Regions from separate parts of the Homo sapiens genome. Here all the other regions are linked to region 2. Evidence: promoter capture Hi-C in 16 types of primary human blood cells and fetal thymus (Javierre and others, 2016). All regions are on one chromosome and are shown on one strand. Each heading gives the region's core, a stretch centred on a gene start or on the middle of the fragment in contact. The rest is flanking DNA. Distances are from core to core; before and after follow the strand shown.

Region 1 (3,806 bases), core at 874-3,373, 610 kb before region 2:
TCTCTTTGCTGTCGATTCTCTACTAGCCTATGTGACATGGCTCCTTCCCATGCTGTCGTAGTCACTGACACAAGATGTGTTTGGTGGCATGCATTGTGCACCTCCTGGTAGGACTTGGGGGAATCACAGAGGCAGGACCCACCCTCGGCCAGGTGAGCGGCCCACTCACTTCCCTTTGTGGTGCTTAGAGAGGAAGATGCGGGGCCAACATTGCTGGGTGTTTGGGAGCAAGGTGGCCCCATCTCGGCATCTCCTGGAGGCAGTGGAGATGGTGACAGTAATCTCTCTGCGTGTCCTGCAGTGAAGATGCTGCAGCTAGGGCTCTGCAGCCACAGAACTAAGGGAGGAACCGAGAGCTGCACAGCACTGTCTACGAGAATTCCCTCTTGAGTTCAACCCAGTGAATATTCCCTGAGGACCTGCTGTGTGTAAAGTGCTAGAGGATCCGATGGCGAATGAGGGGTGGACCCTACCTTGGAGGGAAAGCTGGTCCCAGAGTGCCGGCCTCTCTGTGCAGGCGCTGCCACAGCCACTAGGGGGCGCCACGCGTCAGAAGGTATCATCCCCTCTGTGTTACACTAGTGTCCTCTGATGGGGGTTTCCAAAGAGGGAACCCACATCGGCTGGGCTTTGCATTGGGCAGGCTTCATCTGCATCCTGTTGGACGGTACGGTAGACCTTAGAGTTTAGAGATAGTCAAACAGTACTGCTGGTGAACCTTCACAGGTCACGGATGTGCCAGACACTGGGCTGGGCTCTACATACGTTTCCACGCTGAATCCACAACAGCCCTATGGGTCGGTGATAGGATCCATGTCCAGATGAAGAAAGGGGTGCCTGGCTCTGAAGCCCATGTGCTTGGATTGTGGCTGAAGCCGTCCTGCTAGGAGAGAGTGATGCAGAACACTCCGGGGCTGGGCCAAGAAGTCGTGGCTTCAGCAGGGAAGCAGTGGGAAAAAAGACGCCTCTTCACAGGTTCATCTAGCAAGAGTGTGCGGTTGGATTGGAAGAGGGGAGGCAAGCCGCTGATGGCCAGAGTGAGGCTGTGACACTTCAGATGAGATGTTGTTTCACTCTGACTCCAGCCTGGTAGTGACAGTGAGCGTGGAGAGAGGGATGAGGCGTTAGGGGGGTTTGGGCTGAGGATGCACTCCTCAGCGGCCACGTGCAGCTGGCGCTGGGGAGGTGAGGGCTGTGTCTGCTGGGAGAGCTGACAGACCTGGCTCTGGGCAAGGACGCTGGAGTTGCCGGCAACAGCTGGGGCCGTCCCGCTGATGAGAGAGGCGCAGGGCTACAGGGGACCGACAGCGAGTGCAGCACTGGCCCCAGCTGAGCTGATGACATGGGCAAATGACTTGTGGGGAGTGCAGATGTGGAGCCACAGAGCAGAGCCCTTTGGTGGTTGAGGCCACTGAGTGACAAGACGAGAAGGGGCTGGAACAGCATCTGGAGGGGCCCCTGCTCTGGGGGACAGCGAGGAAGAAGGGACTCAACAGAAGGCGAGAGAGAGCATCACAGGCTAGCAGGAAGAAGGCAGGAGCCAGGAGGGTGTGGGGCGCTGCCGGACACTGGATGTGTGGACAAGGAGCTGCTGGTGATCTCTCCCATACAGTCTCACTGTGGTGAGGGCTGGGCCAGGGATCAAGGGGTGATGAAATGGTGCTGCCCTGGAATGGACCACTTTGTCCCAAAGACTGTCAGCAACTTGAGGGATGGGGCTGTGGGCAGGTGGGACACACCCTGGAGCTGCAGGGGCCATGGGAGTGCTCAAAGGTCCGAGGGAAGGAGAACACACAGGGCTGGAAGATGCAAGAGGACACCAGAGTCACAGACCAGGCCCTGGAGTGGGCAGGCGGAGGGTGCCCTTGCAGGGAGGGAAGGAGGGAGGAGAGAAGGTAGGGACATGAATGGAGGAAATATGCTCAGGTTGGGCAGCCTCAGTCTCCCCAGTAAAACAGGTGTTCTTGTCCTGCTCAACATGAGAGAGGTGAGCACAGAACCGGGGCCTTGAGGGGAGTGGAGGTGACTGGCAGAGATGCAGTTGGAGCCAGAGAGCCTGGAAAAATACAGATGCCTGGGCCCCACCCCAGAGTGTGGTGGGCAGGACCTGGGCATTAGGGTTTCAGAAACTCCCCAGGTGGTCCCTGTGTGCCACAGCCAGGGTGGTAAACATAGCATGAAGTCAAGGTCCTGCGAGGACTTGGCAGCTGAAGGCCATCAGTGCCATGGACGTCAGAACTGTTAAGAAGGTGTCCTCATGCTCTTTAGCAGGGACCGGAGTTCAAACAGCAGATTTGTCACATGCTCGCCACAAGCTGGGCCCCCTACTATCCACTTTATGTGGATTCTCTAATCTGATCCCCACAGCAGCCCTGGGAAATGGGCACCGGTTTCACACCCACTTGGCAGGTGAGGAAACTGAGGCATGGAGGGCAAGTCTCCCCAGGAGCTGGGCCAAGCCCAGGCAGCATCTTCTGACTGCTGTAGGGGAGAGGATGGGCCCACCGGCAGGGCCAGCCAAGGAGCCACGAAGGTGAGCAGGGAGGGAGTAGGGGGCGCGTGCTGAGGCCTGGAGGAGTGGGAGTGGTGAGCGGCTGCAGTAAGTAGGAAGGGGGAATTTGTGCCTAGCACCTTAGAGGGCAGGCAGTCTCCAGGGCTCGGGGAGCTGTTACAATGGGCAGTGAAGGCCCAGGATGGGCGAGGCCTCCGGAAGCAGAGCAGCCAGGCTGGACCACGCAGGCAGGAACTAGTCGACTGGACCATGACCCAGGAAGCTGGGGCAGATGTGAGCCAGGTACCCCTCCCCTCAGCAGGATGGCTGGTCTCTGAGGCTGAGGAGATGGAGCCCACCAGCTGAATACCCCCAAACTTTGTGTGGTTCCTCAGTGGACAGGTATTCATTAAAGCAGGGGCTGCAGGGGCAACCAGCGAGAAGCCAAAGTGCATCTTGGGAGGTGAGATGGTGCTGTCTATGCCAGAGGGCAAATATCCTGACCTGGCTAAGCTCCCCTCCTCTGGGCTCCCACAGCTTCCGTCTCAGCTGATGCCACCTTTCCATCTTTCTGTCTCTGCCCTGTCCCCTGACCGGCGTGGTGTGGAGCACTCAGCAGCAACGTGAAGTAATTAGCACAGGACCTGTGTACGCCAGGGCGAGGCTGTGTGGTGGAAACCAGGTGTGCAGTTAGATCCCAAGTGCTGCCATGTACTTGGTTTGGCTTCGGGGATTCCGGCGCTGTGGCTGTTTTCCTTAGCCATGACCTTGAGGCTCTTCTCTTTGTCTCTGATAATCCCAGTGTTTGAAAATCCCAGAGTACCTTTCCAGGAGTGGTTGATTTTTCCTCAGTTTTGTCTGGGGTTTCTTGGTAAGGTGACCTGATGGATCTTCAGGCCCAAGGGGTCCTGGAAGGGCCTAGAGACTGCCAGAGTGGAGGAGGAGCTGTTAGGATGTGGGAGCAGGGGCTTCTCTGGGTCCCGCAGAGATGTGTTCTCCTGGCATGGGCCAAGGGCCCCCTGGAGGAGGCTGCACTTTCCTGATCCCTCCCAAGGTTTCCAGGCCTGCTCAATGGCTCAGACCCACTGCCCCAGTTTCTTCTACCCTCGGGAAGTTTTGACGACCAGCTGGATCCCTCTCACTCCCTCCTAACTCCCTCATCTGGGAGGGGTGCGGGAGGCATGGGTATTTACAAGGAGTCCTGTAGGTGATTCGGTGGCCATTCCCAGCCCCTCAGAAGAACTGAAGGGAGATGAAGGAAATGTCCTTTGAAGGTGGCAGTAAAAGAAATTAAGTGCTCACCACACCAGCAGCC
Region 2 (3,548 bases), core at 468-2,967:
TAGTGGCAGAACTTGAAAGCGAACAATACTTTTTATGCTGTAAAACGAGAATACCATCAACTCCTACTTGATAGGGCAATTGGTACGGATGAAACGAGATCATGCTTTTAATGTTTTCTGCAATGCCTGGCACTCAGCACTGAAACGTGATATCTATGCTTATTGCTGTTGTCACTGTCATCATTATCATCAAATAATGCCCCAGGCAAGGTAGAGTTTACAGTTATTTTTTCTTTTTTTTGAGACGGAGTCTTGTTCTATTGGCAGACTGGAGTGCAGTGGCGCGATCTCGGCTCACTGCAACCTCCGCCTCCCGGATTCAAGCAATTCTCCTGCCTCAGCCTCCCAAGTGGCTGGGACTACAGGTGCGTGCCACCATGCCCGGCTAATTTTTGTATTTTCAGTAGAGACGGGGTTTCACCATGTTGGCCAGGATGGTCTCGATCTCTTGACCTCATGATCCACCTGCCTCGGCCTCCCAAAAAAGTGCTGGGATTACAGGAGTGAGCCACCGCGCCCGGCCGGTAGAGTTTGTAGTTCTGACCAAAGCACCAAACCATAAAGGGCTCCCCTCTGCTGCCCCAAAGCTTCTGTAACACTTTAATTATAAGAAGCTTAAACTAGAAAGAACAGAGGGAGCTTAGTCCAGACCGGGAGTGTCGGGGGTTGGGGAGCAGGAGCTGATCTTATCAATTTAATACATAAATATTGAGTGTCTACTGTGAGCCAGGGTTGTGCTGGGTGTTAAGGAATATTTGGGTATTTCTCAACATTGAATAATACGAAAAGTCTCACTTGTCTCCTCCACAACCCTGCGCATTTCTCACACCGAACCTCATCCGTTTAAGAAAAACTTTTCTTCTTCTACCGCTACATAATTTTACTTTGGCTTGCTTTAAATGCAAATGTTTAAACAGAAAATTAAAAATAATCGTATAATAAACACCCTTATTACCCATCACCGAAATTTTTAAAATTAGCATTTTTGCTCAAATAGAGCTTCGATTTTTAAGAAATTTTTGCTTAAGGAAAATTAACTAAAGACATCATAGCATCTCTTTCTAAAACACTTTGGTCTGCATCTCTAAAAATTAAGGAAAGTTTTGGAAAAAAAATCATATTGCCTAAGAAAATAATTTTAATGCCCCCCAATCTATATTCAAACTTTTCTAATAGATCCAAAAATGTCTTTTAAAGTTCGTACAAACCCAGGTCCTATCAAAGCTTATATATTACATTGCGTTATATCTTATATCTCTTAAGTCTTTTAAAATCTAGACTAGTAGCCTCCCCACCTTTTCTAGGTAACATCAATCTATTAAAGATCTAAAAGAAAGCGGCCCAGTTGTCCTATAGAATATCCCACCTTCTGTATTTAACTGCTTCTTCGTGGTGTGGAAAAATCATTTTTAACTCTTTCACTTCACCCCAGACACAGCAGGAACCAGCTCCTTTTCCTCAGGTCCTCCCCGCCTTGGCTCATTGCTCACCTTTCAGAACCTGCAGGAGCAGATCAATCCCCTCTTGGTAACACACCAGAGCCTGCGGATACCGCGACTCCGAATCTAGTTCTACTGCCCGCTTTAGCACAGTGGCTGCAGCTGTGCTCTGCGGGTCCTGCCTCAGCCCGGACTTCGCCATAATTCTGGAAGTTCTCCTCCGCCTCAACCCAGGATGAAGTTGAGCGGGTCTGCTGCGCTTCCGGGAAGTGGTCATGTGATACCCAGGCGCCTGCGCTCTCTTTCTAGGGACTTTCCTGAGTGGGAGGGATTTCGCCGGAACAAAAATGCCTCAGTTTGGAGGTCGCGCTCACTGCGACGGCAGGCTTTGAGTGTAGCACTTGGTAGTTCTTCCTCTGCTCTGCTTCCCTTCGGAGGAAAATTTCAGGCTGAAGGTTTAGCGGGTGCCGGTGAGTGGGGAATGAGTGGCGGAGAGTGCGGCATTCTTCGCAAGGTGTATCCGGGAACCCTCTGCAGATCCTAATTGATTTTCCCTATTGCGTACTGAATTGGCCGGTTACGGCAACCTAAATGGGTCTGCCCCTGATCCCGTCACATTGGCTCCCGTAAGGCCATTGGCCTGCAGGATCCCCCCGTTTCCCAATTTGCAGGATCCAGGGCCACGCGGCTTTTTGTGCCCAGACTCTTGGAGCTCAAGAACGGAGCCGCCGAGGCTGGACAGCTTGGGAAAGGGAACCCAAGCAGCATTTTCTGTGCTGCTGCTTTATTCATAACTTAGGGTTGCCACTGGGTATTAAGGTTGCTTTTTTTTTTTTTTAATGAAGACAGAAAATTGCCTTTATCTTTGTATTGCTTCATTTTATAATGCAAACATCCAAGAGTTGGCAGTTAGAATATTTGCCATTTTATTAAAACTGTGATTTGTTACCATTTTGATCGAGACCTACCAAAAGCTGTTTGTTCTGCCCTTTTTGCCAAGAGGCAGTAATGAGGGCTGCCTACTGCTTGTTAGGCACTAGGAGTTCAGAGAAGAGACACGCTTCCAGCTTTCAGAGATCTCTGGTATCTCTGCAAGAGTGATTCCATGTTTTGCATTTCAGAAGTGTTTTTCCCCCTTTAATAATTGTATACATTGTCGGTTTAGAAAAAGAAATCGATTTTTAACATTCCTGTTGCATGCATGCTCATTGTAAAAAGACAAAAGAACTATCGGTCGCTGGGGGGGAGAAGGGGGAGGAAAAACGCCTTTTTTCATACCCCCAGGGGTATGTTAACGTTTTTCTGACAACCTTCCAGAGTTTTTCTGTGATTACACACGTTCACAGACATTTAAAAAAATAGAAATGGGATCATACTTCTCCTGTGATGCCTGATATTTTCCTGTTTTACAGAAGACAGCGTAATTGTTTCAGGGTCCAGGAGTTACGTGCCTAATTATTAACAGTAACTTTTACTTTATTAAAACGTATTCCTTGCCGGGCGTGGTGGCTCACGCCTGTAATCTCAGCACTTTCGGAGGCCGAGGCGGGAGGATCACGAGGTCAGGAGATCGAGACCATCCTGGCTAACACGGTGAAACCCCGTCTCTACTAAAAATACAAAAAATTAGCCGGGCGTCCGGGCGGGCGCCTGTAGTCCCAGCTACTGGGGAGGCCGAGGCAGGAGAATGGCGTGAACCCGGGAGGCGGAGCTTGCAGTGAACCCAGATCGTGCCACTGCACTCCAGCCTGGGCGACAGAGCGAGACTCCGTCTCAAAAAAATAAATAAGATAAAATAAACGTATTCTTTGAGTCAAACGTGGTGACACACACCTAGCTCCAATTACTGGGAAAATTGAGGATTGCTTGAGGCTGAGTTCAATACCAGAAACATAGCGAGACTCTGTCTCTAAAAACTTGTAACTTTTGACTATCACACCTTCAGAAGTCTGTAAATATTTAAACTTCAGTTATTCTGCAAAAATATATTATATGTCTGCTATAGGGCAGATACCGCTTTACACAGATGTTTGGGATACTTCTATGAATATAACAGACCCAAAACAACAAAATCTAAAAACCCTTTTCCTATGGAATTAGCGTGCTATT
Region 3 (3,886 bases), core at 355-2,854, 520 kb before region 2:
AAATGATAAAACTATGTAATAAAAAACTGCTATTATTACACCATATTAATATTACACTGACACTGAGAACTGAATCAAGAGCACTTCAATCAGTTAGAAATAAACATTTATCAGATCTGCATATTTTTAAATTATGAACAAGTCAAAATTCTAATACTTCTTATTAATTTTTCTTTATTTTCTTTATTGATTTAATGAATCACATATTCACATTTCACAAACATTTACTGAATGCCTACTCTAGGCCAGGCTGCACTGCAGTGAACAAGTCTAAGCATGGCAGGCATGTTTTAAACAGACATTTTCAACCAAGTTCAGATCTAACCCAGCATGGAGGGTAGAAGCATCAGAAGAGGATGCCTGGAAGAGGTGACGTTCAACAGTAAGAATTGGCTTGTTCCAGGGCTCTGGCTCCCAGGGGTCTAACAGAGATAAACATCATTAGCTTTTCTCCTCTAAGAGGTAAACGGAGTCTGTCTCTGATGCTATGTCAAAGACCGTGAAATTGGGTCAAAGTGAAACCACTTTCTAGGCTAGCTGTAAGGACTGACAAACAGGGTGGAGCACAGGTGATGGGCAAATGTAAATAATTATGAGCATTATTTCTCCGGTGTGTGTGTCCAGACATCATCCTCCTCCTAACTCCAGATCCTTGCCCCTTCAAGGACCCCAGGAAGCCCAAGGGACAACCAGGCCAGGGACATGGCAGGCTGGGTTACAGGGCCATAGCCACATTTTTGAGCCAGCCAGAGCCCTATTGATATGGTTTGGCGTGTCCCCACCCAAGTCTCATCTCGAATTGTAGCTCCCATAATTCCCATGTGTTCTGGGAGGGACCCTGTGGAGATAACTGAATCATGGGGGCAGTTTCCCCCATACTGTTCTTGTGATAGTGAATAAGGCTTATAAGATCTCATGGTTTTATAAGGGGTTTCCCCCTTTCACTTGATTCTCATTTTCTCTCTTGTCTGTTGCCATGTAAGACATGCCTTTCGCCTTCTGCCATGATTGTGAGGCCTTTCCAGCCATGTGGAACTGTGAGTCCATTTTTCTTTATAAATTACCCAGTCTTGGGTATGTCTTTATCAGCAGCATAAAAATGGACTAATACACCTACCTATCAATTTTAAATACAGCGATAACTTATAAAAATGCTCAATTGTTAAAAGACTCAATGATATATAAAATATAATCTATGTTATAAAGACTGTCAAAGCACTTAATACTTGAGAAAAACAAACAAAAAAGGTATAGCTTAATCCTGGAAATTGCAAAACCATCAAATTATAAAAAGTTTTTATAACAGGCTTTCTGGAAAACAATATACAAACATCGGTAGCATTTCTACATACTAACAATGAACTATCTGAAAAAGAAATCAAGAGAACAATCCCATTTAAAATAGCTACCAAAAAAATACTTAGGAAAAAATTTAACCAAGGAAGTGAAAGAACTAGACACCAAAAATTATAAAATGTTGATGAAATAATTTGAAGAACACACAAATAAATAGATATCTTTGCTCATGGATTGGAAGAATTAATATCATTTAAATGTCCATATTACCCAAAGTGATCTACAGATTCAATGTAATCCCTATCAAAAAATTTAATGACATTTTTCTCAGAAATGGGAAAAAAATCCTAAAATTCATATATAACCACACACACACACACACACGCACGCGCACACACACACACACACACACACACACACACACACACACAACAAATAGCCAAGGTAATCATGAGGAAAAACAATAAAGCTGGAGGCAACACACTTTATTATTTCAAACTATACTATGAAGCTATAATAATGTAAACAGTATGGTATTGATTTTTAAAAAACAGACACACTGGCCAATGGAACAGAATATAGAGCCTAGAAATGAACTCATGTATGTATGGTCAATTGATTTTCAGCAAAGGTGCCAAGAACACTCAATGAAAAAAGTTTCTTTAGTAAATGGTGCTGAGAAAACTGGATATCCACATACAGATGAATGAAAGTGGAACTTCAACTCACGTGAAATATACAAATAAACTCAAAATGGATTGAAAACAAAAGAAGACTCTAAAACTACCAGAAGAAAACATAAGGGAAAAACTACACGACATTGGCCTGGGCAATGGTTTTTTGGATATGACCCCAAAAGCTCAGGCAACAAGAACAAAAATAGACAAATAGGATCACATCTAACTAAAACTCTTCTACATGGCAAAGGAAATAATTAACAGCATGCCTGACAACCTATGGGTTAGGAGAAAATATCTGCATGCTGCACATCTGATAAACAGTTAATATCCAAAATATATAAGGAACTCAAACAGCTCAAGAGTAAGAAAAAACACTGAAAAAATAGGCAAAGGACCTGAACAGACATTTCCCAAAAGATGACATACAAATGGCCAACAGATATACGAAAAATCCTCAACACTGCTAATCATTAGGGAAATGCAAATTAAAACCACAATCAGATATCATCACATCTGTCAGGATGGCTAACTGTCAAAAAGACAAAAGATAACAAGTATTAGGAAGAATGTGGAGAAAAGAAACGGATGGATATATACACTGTATCCATACTGGATACATACATGGATCCACTGTATCCATATTATCAAGCTCTGAGTATAGGTTGGTAAATAAAGAAGATCTCTGTTTGTAGAACTTAAAACTGGTGAGAGAAGCAGTTCATAAGCAAACAAACAAAAATATGTACACATATGTATGTGTATATATAACTGAATATTGTGTTATAAAAATAGAATGCAATAATAGAGGAAAAACAGAGATGGCCTACTTAAACATTACATTCAGAGAAAATCTCTCTGAAGACTTGACATTTAAGCCTAAATTTGATACATATTTCTATTCAAATGTACAAAACTAAACAGAAAACATTAAAAGGGCTATTTTAAGTTCATTAATTGGAGCTTTGTCCTTAATAGCATGTTGATGCTATAGCAATGGTTCTCATTTTTTATTAGAACCCATTTAGTTAAAAACATGTTCATAATTTACCCATCTCTGATCACCTCCATGAACAGTCTCCCAGTCCAAGCCTCACCTCGATTATGGCAACAGCTTTCTAAGTAGTCTCCTTTCTTTTGCCCTTACCAAAGCAGACAGCAGGATCCTTTTTAAAAAGGCAAGTCATATTATTCTTGCCAAAAATGCATAGTCAAAATATAATCATGAGAAAATATCAGATAAATCCAAACTGAGACATTTTACAAAATAACTGACCAGTGCCCATCAAAAATGTCCAAGTTCATGAAAGACACAAACATGGACAGGAGGAAGCTAAGGCATGAGAACCGCTAACTGCAATGTGGTGTTCCATAGTGCATGCTGGAACAGAAAGGCGAACCCAGGCGGAAAAACAGGAAACTCAAATAAAGTCTGTAGTTTGGTTGAGTATTATATCAGTGTTAATTTCCTGGTTTTGATAACTATAATATGGCTACATATGTTGTTAACATCAGAGCAAGCTGAGTGAAGGAGATACCCTCTATAATTTCTGCAACTTTCTGTAAATCTAAAATTATTTCAGAACAAAAAGTCTTAACATATAATTTGAAATAGTTATATTTATGTAGAGGAGTAACAGGTAATTTTTCATTATATATTTATGTAATTGTTTTGAACAGTATGCATTTGTTTACTTCTCTAATAAGGAAATCATCAAGACCATTTTCATTTAAAAAGACATGGGGAACTCTAAAAAGTTAGGAATTAGTGGGCCAGAACTAGACCATGTCCTAAATCCTTTCCCATTCTGAAATTCTATACAATAATTAAGAAAATATTTACTCTAGGGTCTTATTCCTCATGATTTAAAAAGAACTTGCTCAAGATTTATTCTTTCTCTAAATCTTTTGAG

Evidence for each region. Contacts are between HindIII fragments. The CHiCAGO score rates a contact against its expected background, and 5 or more counts as called.
Region 1: a fragment that was not itself captured here is called in contact with the fragment with the promoter of MITD1 in region 2 in 1 of 17 cell types (naive CD4 T cells); the score reaches 6.9 in naive CD4 T cells.
Region 3: a contact is called between a fragment that was not itself captured here and the fragment with the promoter of MITD1 in region 2, in 6 of 17 cell types (naive CD4 T cells, naive CD8 T cells, fetal thymus and 3 more). The highest score is 6.6, in naive CD4 T cells.

What each region holds. Positions count from the first base shown.
Region 1 is chr2:98,568,857-98,572,662 of GRCh38, forward strand. The region is part of intron 22 of INPP4A (inositol polyphosphate-4-phosphatase type I A); the gene reads left to right. Among named protein-coding and RNA genes, the nearest start is that of COA5, 38 kb to the right of the region's middle. The HindIII fragment of the contact is 4,303 bases long and covers 1-3,806 here.
Region 2 is chr2:99,179,341-99,182,888 of GRCh38, forward strand. MITD1 (microtubule interacting and trafficking domain containing 1) reads right to left here and starts at 1,718. Exons shown (of 7, transcript NM_138798.3): 1 at 1,491-1,718. The coding sequence starts at 1,641. It overlaps MRPL30 (mitochondrial ribosomal protein L30), which reads left to right and starts at 1,844. Exons shown (of 6, transcript NM_145212.4): 1 at 1,844-1,909. RefSeq lists enhancers at 1,386-1,525, 1,536-1,765, 1,786-1,835 and a silencer at 2,053-2,225. The HindIII fragment of the contact is 16,860 bases long and covers 1,223-3,548 here.
Region 3 is chr2:98,658,732-98,662,617 of GRCh38, forward strand. The region is part of intron 5 of MGAT4A (alpha-1,3-mannosyl-glycoprotein 4-beta-N-acetylglucosaminyltransferase A); the gene reads right to left. Among named protein-coding and RNA genes, the nearest start is that of UNC50, 52 kb to the left of the region's middle. The HindIII fragment of the contact is 5,183 bases long and covers 1-3,886 here.